Linked DNA regions of Homo sapiens: region 2 is linked to region 1. The links are contacts of gene promoters, found by promoter capture Hi-C in blood cells and fetal thymus (Javierre and others, 2016). All regions are on one chromosome and are shown on one strand. Each heading gives the region's core, a stretch centred on a gene start or on the middle of the fragment in contact. The rest is flanking DNA. Distances are from core to core; before and after follow the strand shown.

The links. The method cuts DNA at HindIII sites, captures the fragments that hold promoters and counts their contacts. A CHiCAGO score of 5 or more calls a contact.
Region 2: a contact is called between a fragment that was not itself captured here and the fragment with the promoter of LHFPL1 in region 1, in 1 of 17 cell types (non-activated CD4 T cells). The highest score is 6.3, in non-activated CD4 T cells.

The regions. Positions count from the first base shown.
Region 1 is chrX:112,677,593-112,681,897 of GRCh38, forward strand. It overlaps LHFPL1 (LHFPL tetraspan subfamily member 1), which reads right to left and starts at 2,346. Exons shown (of 4, transcript NM_178175.4): 1 at 2,237-2,346. The HindIII fragment of the contact is 5,630 bases long and covers 64-4,305 here.
Region 2 is chrX:112,821,127-112,825,431 of GRCh38, forward strand. AMOT (angiomotin) reads right to left here. Exons shown (of 14, transcript NM_001113490.2): 3 at 3,946-4,094; 4 at 1,129-2,062. The coding sequence starts at 2,000. Among named protein-coding and RNA genes, the nearest start is that of AMOT, 18 kb to the right of the region's middle. The HindIII fragment of the contact is 705 bases long and covers 2,082-2,786 here.

The DNA.
Region 1 (4,305 bases), core at 1,096-3,595:
CTCCTTATATCAAGTTGGGTATATAAGCAGCCTGACCATGCTAGATCTTTCTGTTTCAGACAAAGCTTCAAAAAAAAAAAAAAATACTGCTACTCCCCAAACATTTCTCTCCTCATGTTCTGCTACCTGTCTCCCTCAGGGGTTTCTTCTCCTCTGGCTATCTCCATTATGAGAAGTGCTCTGAGTTCTCCTGTGCCTGAAATCATCTCATGATGTACTCACTCATCTTGGTGACTCTAAGAAGATCTCTCTTTTGACTTGTGTCTTTTATTTCAAATTCCTCAGATTTCATGTTTGCTGAACTTCTTTCTGGGCCTTCTTCTTCCTTCCCTCCTTTTTTAGTTTGGGGTAGAAAGACCAGCAAAACTGTGTTGGGTGAGTTTATGTGTTTATTTGCATCTCTCCATCCAGAGGTGGGAATGCTCACAAGCAGGTAAGGCATTAAAAGGCAGGAAGCCAGAGACTAAGTGGAGAGAAAGGACTAACTGAGCAATTGATAACTTTGAAATGATCAACTCTAAATAAATATATTTGACCATGCAGAGACAAAGAGAGCTCATAAAAAGAACCTCCACATCAGGCCCTGGGCTATTTCCTTTCTCCAGAGTTTGAGACTGGAAAGGTAGGAACTGGAATAACCTCCCCAAATTTCATATGAGCTTCTCTCTCCTTCCCTCTCCCCAAGATGCTGCTCCTTGAGCTCCCCATCTATCCTATGATTTTAAAAGTGAGGTACCAATGAGAGATCTTCATCTCAGTTCTTATTCTGGCTAGACAGGTGCCATCATCTTCAGTGATAAGCTGGTTGGCTACGAGTTCTATCTCACACTCTCAGCTGGTTAGAAACTACCCCTATCAAGATCCCTGGCAAGACATTGTTAAGCCCTAAACCCCAGCCCTGTTATTGTTGCCCATTAGTCTCTCCACTCCATTGTATAAGCTGGGAATAAAATGTCACCACAGCTGACCACTTCTATTGAGTGAATCTGGCCCATATGGGAAGAAGATGGGCTGATTGCTTTTCCAATCACTTCAGAGAAGTTGAGAGGCAGCATGGTATATCAAGAATGTTTGTCTCAACAGAATCACTTTCAATGCTTGTTCAGAATCACTTTCAATGCTTGTTCAAAATGCAGACTATGTCACCCCCTCCTTGATTCACTGAATTCGAATTTATGGGAATTCATATTGTTAAAAATCCTCAATTTATTCTAATGGGAACTAATGATTGAGGAATACTGTTTTAGTGGAAAAGTCACAATTTTGGAATCAGATCAGAGACAGAGTCCTGAGGTCTGCCCCTTACAGGCTATATGCACATAAAAAGATCACTTAAAACCTCTGAGTTTTGGTTTCATTTATAAAATGGAAATGATTAAGCATAAAATTCAAGTGAAACATCTGCACTATACCTAACACCAGAGTAGGTATCAATTCTCTCCCTTTCTACCAGAAAAGACCCTATTCTCTCATAAGTAATGGAAAAGACTTGAAACCACCTAAGATTTAGAACATCTCTCCTTTCCCCTTTCTCTCCCCACAACCACTCCATGGGTGATTTTTCCTCACCCCTAGGCTTCATTCTATTTTCAGTTCCCCACCACAAAATGAAACCACTTGGCCAAGTGTTCTTTGCAAGAATGGATTTATAGTTTAAGTATTTCAGGTTCTTCTGGAAATTGTCATGCCTTGGCACATAGTAGGAACTCATAAATATTTACCAAATGGATGCATTCTTTTATTTCCAGCCTGAGAGGCCTCAATATTTGCATTTCAGTTTAACTTCATTACCCCATTTCCGTCGCATAACCCCTTAGATTTAGGCAAATCCAGGAGATCAACCTACCACATTAGCAAACCGGATCCATTTTTACTTGTATAGACAGGTCATAACAAAATCACTCTCTCCACTCCCAGAAACAGGCACTTCATCTCCTCAGGTTACCAACTCCCCTGGGGAAACCAACTAGCACTTAACCCTTAGGTCCTCAAATCTTGTCAATATGAAATAGGAATCCAGCCCTGATTCATCTTAGCCTCTGTGCAAACAACGGACTATGAAGAAATAAAAAAGCACCAGGCTGCCCTCGGGTAGAAAACGGCTTCTCTGAGCTTTGAGATGAAAGGACAGGAAACCTGAGAAAGGAAGGGGAGAAGGGGGGGCTGAGCAAGGGGAGAGCAAAGCAGTTTCTTATCCAGCTGTTTGAATTGCATTTGGCCCAAGTTGCATATTTACCTTCTGACCACGAAGGCTGACTGACTTGTTCCCTCTCTTCAGGCTCAGATCTCAGAAACAACTTCTCCTTACAGCTTGTTAGACAAGGATGGGAATACTAGCTGCCCTTTGCAGTGATGCCTGAAAACCTTGCTTTACCTTTGGGAGAAAGGGGCGGAGTCCAACCTAATGGGGATTAACTCCAAACACGCTGGAGGCTTCAAACCCAGCCTCAGACATACAGGCACTTGAAATAGAAAGTAGCTTAGTGGGCACAGAGTCCCCAAACCTCCAACCTCACAGCGGACAAAGCAGCTCTGTGTGTGTGTGTGTGTGTGTGCGCGCGCGCGCGCGCGCGCGCGTGTGTGTGTATGTGTGTCCGCGCGAGCGCGCGCGCATGCGCGCAGGCATGCCCGCGCTTGAACTGCGTTATCTTACTTCCTCACTTGCTGCCCAAAAGCCTGCTGAGGAACAGAGATTTTCTCTAATTTTCCTCCAATGCCCTAGATAATCTCTACCATGGTAGGTAGCAGACCCATGTGGCTAGAAGTGACTGAGAGAACACATGCCTAAATAGAATAAGACAGAACAACCTCTTCTCCCCAAACTGATTTCCATTGCCTGATGGGGAAGATGCTCCAGCAGAGCAATCTTTGGCTCCAAGATGTAATGAGCTTACATTTCAGAATTTGTGGAAATCATACATTGAAAGGAATAACTAATATATTTTTATAGTAATAATACAATCAAAAGTCAGTGTTTAATTTATCCCAGTGCACTAATAACTGCTACTCTGCTTGGGAAAAGAGCTGAGTGGTCTGGAGATGAATGGAGCTTTGCCTGATGTTCTACTCCAACCCGATGTCATATTTCCCACCTGTGAATGTCCCTGACACTTCATATTTGGGGAAACTTATTATCTTCTACCTAGTATCATTATTATTATTATTATTTTCGTACATGTCTCTTTTCCCCTCCTAGATGGCCTGTGAATGGGGAACTTTGCTGAACAAATCCAAATGATTTAGAAGGAAGAATGGTTACATTAACAGAGCACACTGGACTGATCCAAAGTATCCATGCTTCTCTGATGGCCCAGTTCCCTCACCAGAATGCTACAAAGGTGATTAGGCCTATTTTCTAGCATGTTGTGGCAATAATTCAAAATATGACCGTAAATTAACATATTAATTGTACCGTGATTATTTAATGAACTTACAAAGTTTCTCCTGCCTTCTGTGTATACCACCTGTGTCCTGCCTTTTATCAGTGATATGATCCTATATTCATGCATGTATTTGTCTATCTAGCAACTTTCCATCAGCAATTTTTACCGTTTTGTTCTACAACACAGTGATAAATCCATTCCCATCTGTAATCATGGCTTACTGAGGCCATCATGTTTCTGGGGGAAGCACAGATGACTCCTTAGGTGGAATGTTAGACTTTTGGCAGTGTAAGCCCCCCAACTAAGTTTTATAACCTCCCAGCTGTCATTCCCTTAAGAACCATTGCTTCAGACATAGGATTATGTAAAAAGAAATGTTAGGCCCTCCTTCATTAAATATAGGTTAATATTAACTGACACGTAGTAACTGTGTGAGATACGGCTGAAAATGTTGACATATAAAAAATAGATGATCCCCACTCTATGCACAGCAGTAAATATTGCCCTTTGCTTAGTGACTACACCTGTCATTTGGGGAACCTATCATTATTTGAAACTCTAAGAAGAATACCATTTTACTTTCCTCTTTTATCCTCTTTTCTCTATAGACACTTAAGTGTATAATAAATAATAATCTAATTTATTGGACAAAATTTTATTTCCTGTTCTTAACAGTTGAACGCTCTCTCAGAAAAAAATTGCTTGCATCTTGTGGCTCTTGATATGTTTTCAATTAAAAATGCTCTTCAGCCTTGCTTTCGTAAGATTATGTGGAAAGGCTTGAGAAAGGAACACTTCTTGTAATGTATTTAGGGGACAGGATGGTGCTAAAATGGGTATTGGAAAGGAAACTAGGGAATACCTAAATCCTGCCTTCAATCAGTCTGGAATAAGAGATTCTGCAAGGGTAAGATATGGGTAA
Region 2 (4,305 bases), core at 1,184-3,683, 140 kb after region 1:
CACTCAATGAACTTCAAGCCAGAAGGTTTTTTCCAAAATGAGCAAGTAGGGTACAGGAGACAAAGAGGTAGACATCAAAGGACATCACAGACCTAGTCTGTGAGCCGCATATAAATGAAGGCCAGCCTAGGACCAAGCACTTCAAACCTGATGGTCACCCATCATTACTCATGGCCATGAGGCAGGATACCACACTTAAATGCCACCATCGGTCCCCATGGTTTAAACCTTTTCTCCTGCCCTATATGTGGAAATACTACTGATCAGAGACATGGCCCAAATACTAACAACAGGAACAATGAACAGAATCATAGAATCATAAGGTCTAGTGAATATAGCAGTGGGACAATGGACCTCTGAATAATTAAGAAGTATATATAGGAACAACTAAATATATAAGACAGAAATGGTAATATTTTTCCTTCTGTATTTTAGCATCTGACCAAAATTTCTATATGATGTGATGGGAATTTAACTCAGAGGTTTAAAAATGTGACAGGCAACTAATAAATTCTCTACAAAAAAAAGATACAACAGTCCAGATTTCATAAACTGCAAGCATAAGGCAAGTAACATTCTGAACCTACATACATACATAGCTCCCCCACCATAACATCTGGGTGTTTGTTTAGTCCAAAAGAATAATGGTAATTCTATGGAAAAATGGTAACTGACAAGAAATACACAGATTTGTTTGCAAAAATAAATGATGAAAGCTTCATGGAGGGGAATATGTGCAAGTGATAGGATGTTCCAGACTAATTAAAGTGCAAGGTAATTTGCTTCTACCTCTCAAGGAGGGCTTATGAGAAACACAGACCCCTTCAACATCCTAGGAGAGAGGACAGCAAATAGCTGCTGAAAACAAGACTTTTGCTCCTGTTCGTCCACTAGGCAGTTGAGGCCATGCTCAACCTACAAAGCTAAGGGATTGTTAATACAGTGCTAATTATGGCTAAAGAGGATACAAATTCGGGTTGGCAGGCAATTCACGAAGCCAGAGGCCTGTCATGCATTGCAGAGTTTGTTATATCAAACACCTGCCCGTTCCTTCCCTAAGATTCCCAACACACAGCAGAAGCTGGTTGGGGATGAGGTCAGGAAATGACAGAAACAGAACTCTCTTACCTGGCTGCTCCATACTCAGGGGGATGCTGATACCTCATCAGTTGCCCCTCTGTTCTCCCTGGCTGGTTCAGGCGATGCTCACTATAGAAGTGCCCTGGCTCTTGGGGCTTGCACACTACAGATTGGGGTGGCATGCCCTTGAAGGGATATTCTGGTGGGGGGCCTCGGTGTTCCATGCCCTTCAGGCTATGCTGGTTAGGAAGTGGCCCTTGGGCCTTGTAGAATTCACTGGAACTTGTGGGATTCTTGTAGAGGTCATTGGGTTGTGGTGGGGAGAGGGGAGCACTGGTAACAGGTGGATGGGCCTTAACTCCACTGGTGGCCAGTGACATCTGCATTAGTCGTTCACTCAAGGAACGGACATGCCCTTGCTTAAGGTCTCTGAGTCCCTCATCTTGGTGCATCTTTCCAGGATTGAGCCGCTGAACTGATGGGCGTCCCTCAGTCCTCATCTTCTGGTTGGTGACTCCAGTGACATAGAAGGCAGCTCCAACACTGGCATGCTGTTGGCCCCGAAAGTACTGGGACTGGACCTTGGCTTCTTCATAGGTCGGGAGTTCTTCATTATTTTGCATTCGAGGAGACAGCTGCTTCTCCATGATGAGGTTTTCTGACTGGATTTCCTGCCCCTGGGGTTCTTGTCGAGCAGCATGAGCCACAAGCTGTTGGTGGTGGTCTTGGGGACTCAACACATCACTCTGAGGGCCCGGGTTCCCACTGCCACTGGGGAAAGGAGGGCCATTCCCTGTGGCTTGCTGGTGTATGGCAAGCAGGCTGCGATTCTCACTAGGATTGCCATAGCGAAGCTGCTCTTGTAGCAAACGCTGCAATACCGTGGTCCCTCCACTTGGCTGTTCTTCAGAATTTCTCATCTCTATTGCTGGTGGTGCCTTGTGAAGAGAGAGAGAAATTGGGCACCTGGGCTGCCCTTGACCTGGGAAGGGGAAACAGGAAGCTTAACACCCAGTTGATGGATAAATCAGTCCTCTAAAGGGAAAGAAAATGGATATTGGAGGGTGAGGATTCGATTGCAGAAACAAAGTAGAGAATTGACTCTAAAATTAATAGATTGTTGGGGATTCCAGGCCCTAGCACTGATATGATGAAGAACATGGAGGCATAAGAGCTCTAGGTTTTCTCTTTCACTTTTAGCATGAGTTAAATATTCAATCTGGACTTAACTCCTAAGAATGCTTGAGAAACCTGGAACAGTCAACTAGGGTAATCAAAGGGGGTAACTTTTCAAGGTCCATATTCACAGGCTTCATCTCTCTGTATTCTATTTAAAGCAAAAACCCAAATCTTATGGCTGTGGAGGTGGGGGCAGGACAGTGGGGAAAGTTACCCCATAACAGGATTTGTAAAGCAGCTCAGCATATGAAGGCAGCTACAAAATGCAAAATAAAGACTCAAATAAATAAAAGGTGAAGAGAGCTTGGCTTGCACCAGACAGTAATGATCCCTGCCTCGATGCAAATCTTTTTCTCTGATCTCATAAGGCTCTGAAACATCTTTTTAAAAAATCATTTTCATAGTCTCCATTTTGGATGCTCCTTGGCTTAATAAGAGAAGGACTTGGAATACTTATTACTGACAAAGTTGCCTTTCAGCTCTCCAGAAACAGTCATTTAGATTTGCTGTTATTGTTATTGGGTAGAAGCTTAAAGGGGAAGCCTCTTTTATTTGAAGTGTGCCTCTGACAAAATTTAGAAATTGAAAAATATAAAGATCATCCTTCTGGAAAGGGTATACGATTAGCATATCCCCTCCCTCACCATCAATTCTTCTGAACAGGTACTATGGGTTGACTGAAACTGATTTTAGTAACACAATTTAATATTCAAATTCTAATCATACTATTGGTTTACAGGGTATACAACTGATTCCTCTTTTCTTGATGTCTATTTTCTCAACAAAAAATGGCTGGTAGGTGATTTCTCTCTCTCAGCACTGTATAGTACACACTAATTCATTAGAGATTCAAAAATTCTTTGGGCAGAATCTGTCAATGTTAAGTATTGGAATTAAGTAATAATGTTCAATAATGAAACTTTCACTCTAAGGATCTTCAGTAATTGGTGGAGAATGAACATAATGTCACACGAAAAGTCACAATAAAGGTCAGTTTAACCAGCATCAGGTTTCTAGATGGCAACTCTGGATCCCTGGCTCCCAGGCTCTTATTTCTATGATATTAAGTGGCCTGCAATCTCTCTGGAAACACGAACCCCTTTCTTTTGGTCATGCAGAGAGAGAGTGACCCAGAATGTACATATAGTATATGAAGAAAGTTCATCTTCTCTCTTTCTTCACGTCTTGTTGGTTACTGCTACCTGGCTTCCAACTGTTGCGCTGGGCAGTCTGACAACACGAAGGGACCCTCCAAAGTCCCTCTCATCATATTCTCTTGGGAAGTGCACACCAGTGGGTTAAGCAACCCAGTCCCTTTTCCATTCCTCCCAATGTGCCTCCAGGACTCCTGTACTTGAACTGTCAAATTGGGATATTCTGATAGGCTGACAAGCATAATATATAAATCCTTTTTGGTGCCCAAAACTAGAGAGATGACTACCAAATTACTTTTCCCTGCTCACAAACTGGAAACAGGAACAAGTATGGTGTTAAAGCAAAAGTGATTTACAAACCCTCCCTGTAAGGCAGGGAAATGCAGACACTGAGCTGCCCTGGACCCTGAAAAGTATACCACCCCCTCCCACGTCACACCCACCCCACCCAGCATGCACACAGGCACACATGCATACACACATGCACGAGCGTGTGCACACACACACACACACACACAGAAATATTCCATACCTATTTCTGCTTTCTTTTAGGCTTAAAGCCTTGATCAGGATAGGGAATTCTTGCTTATGAGCAGCTCCAGAAACCGCAACGGCAGATTCCCTCTCCCCTAACACTCAGGTTCAGGGTAAGCGCCGCCAAGAGTCCAACCACTGGTCACTCTGAAATGTTCAGGAGAGGGAGGGAGGGAGAAATAAAAACGTCGTTTCTATTTTGCCACCAATGGCCAGCAGTTAATCAAACCAGTTCTTCCAAGAGAATGACTTGTCCTCCTATGGTGCTTGGCTTTTAAATGAGTAGCAGAGTCCATCTCCACTAGGGCAGAAAAGAAACCTCAGTGTCCAGTAGCTGTGTCCGGAAGGCCAGGCCAGT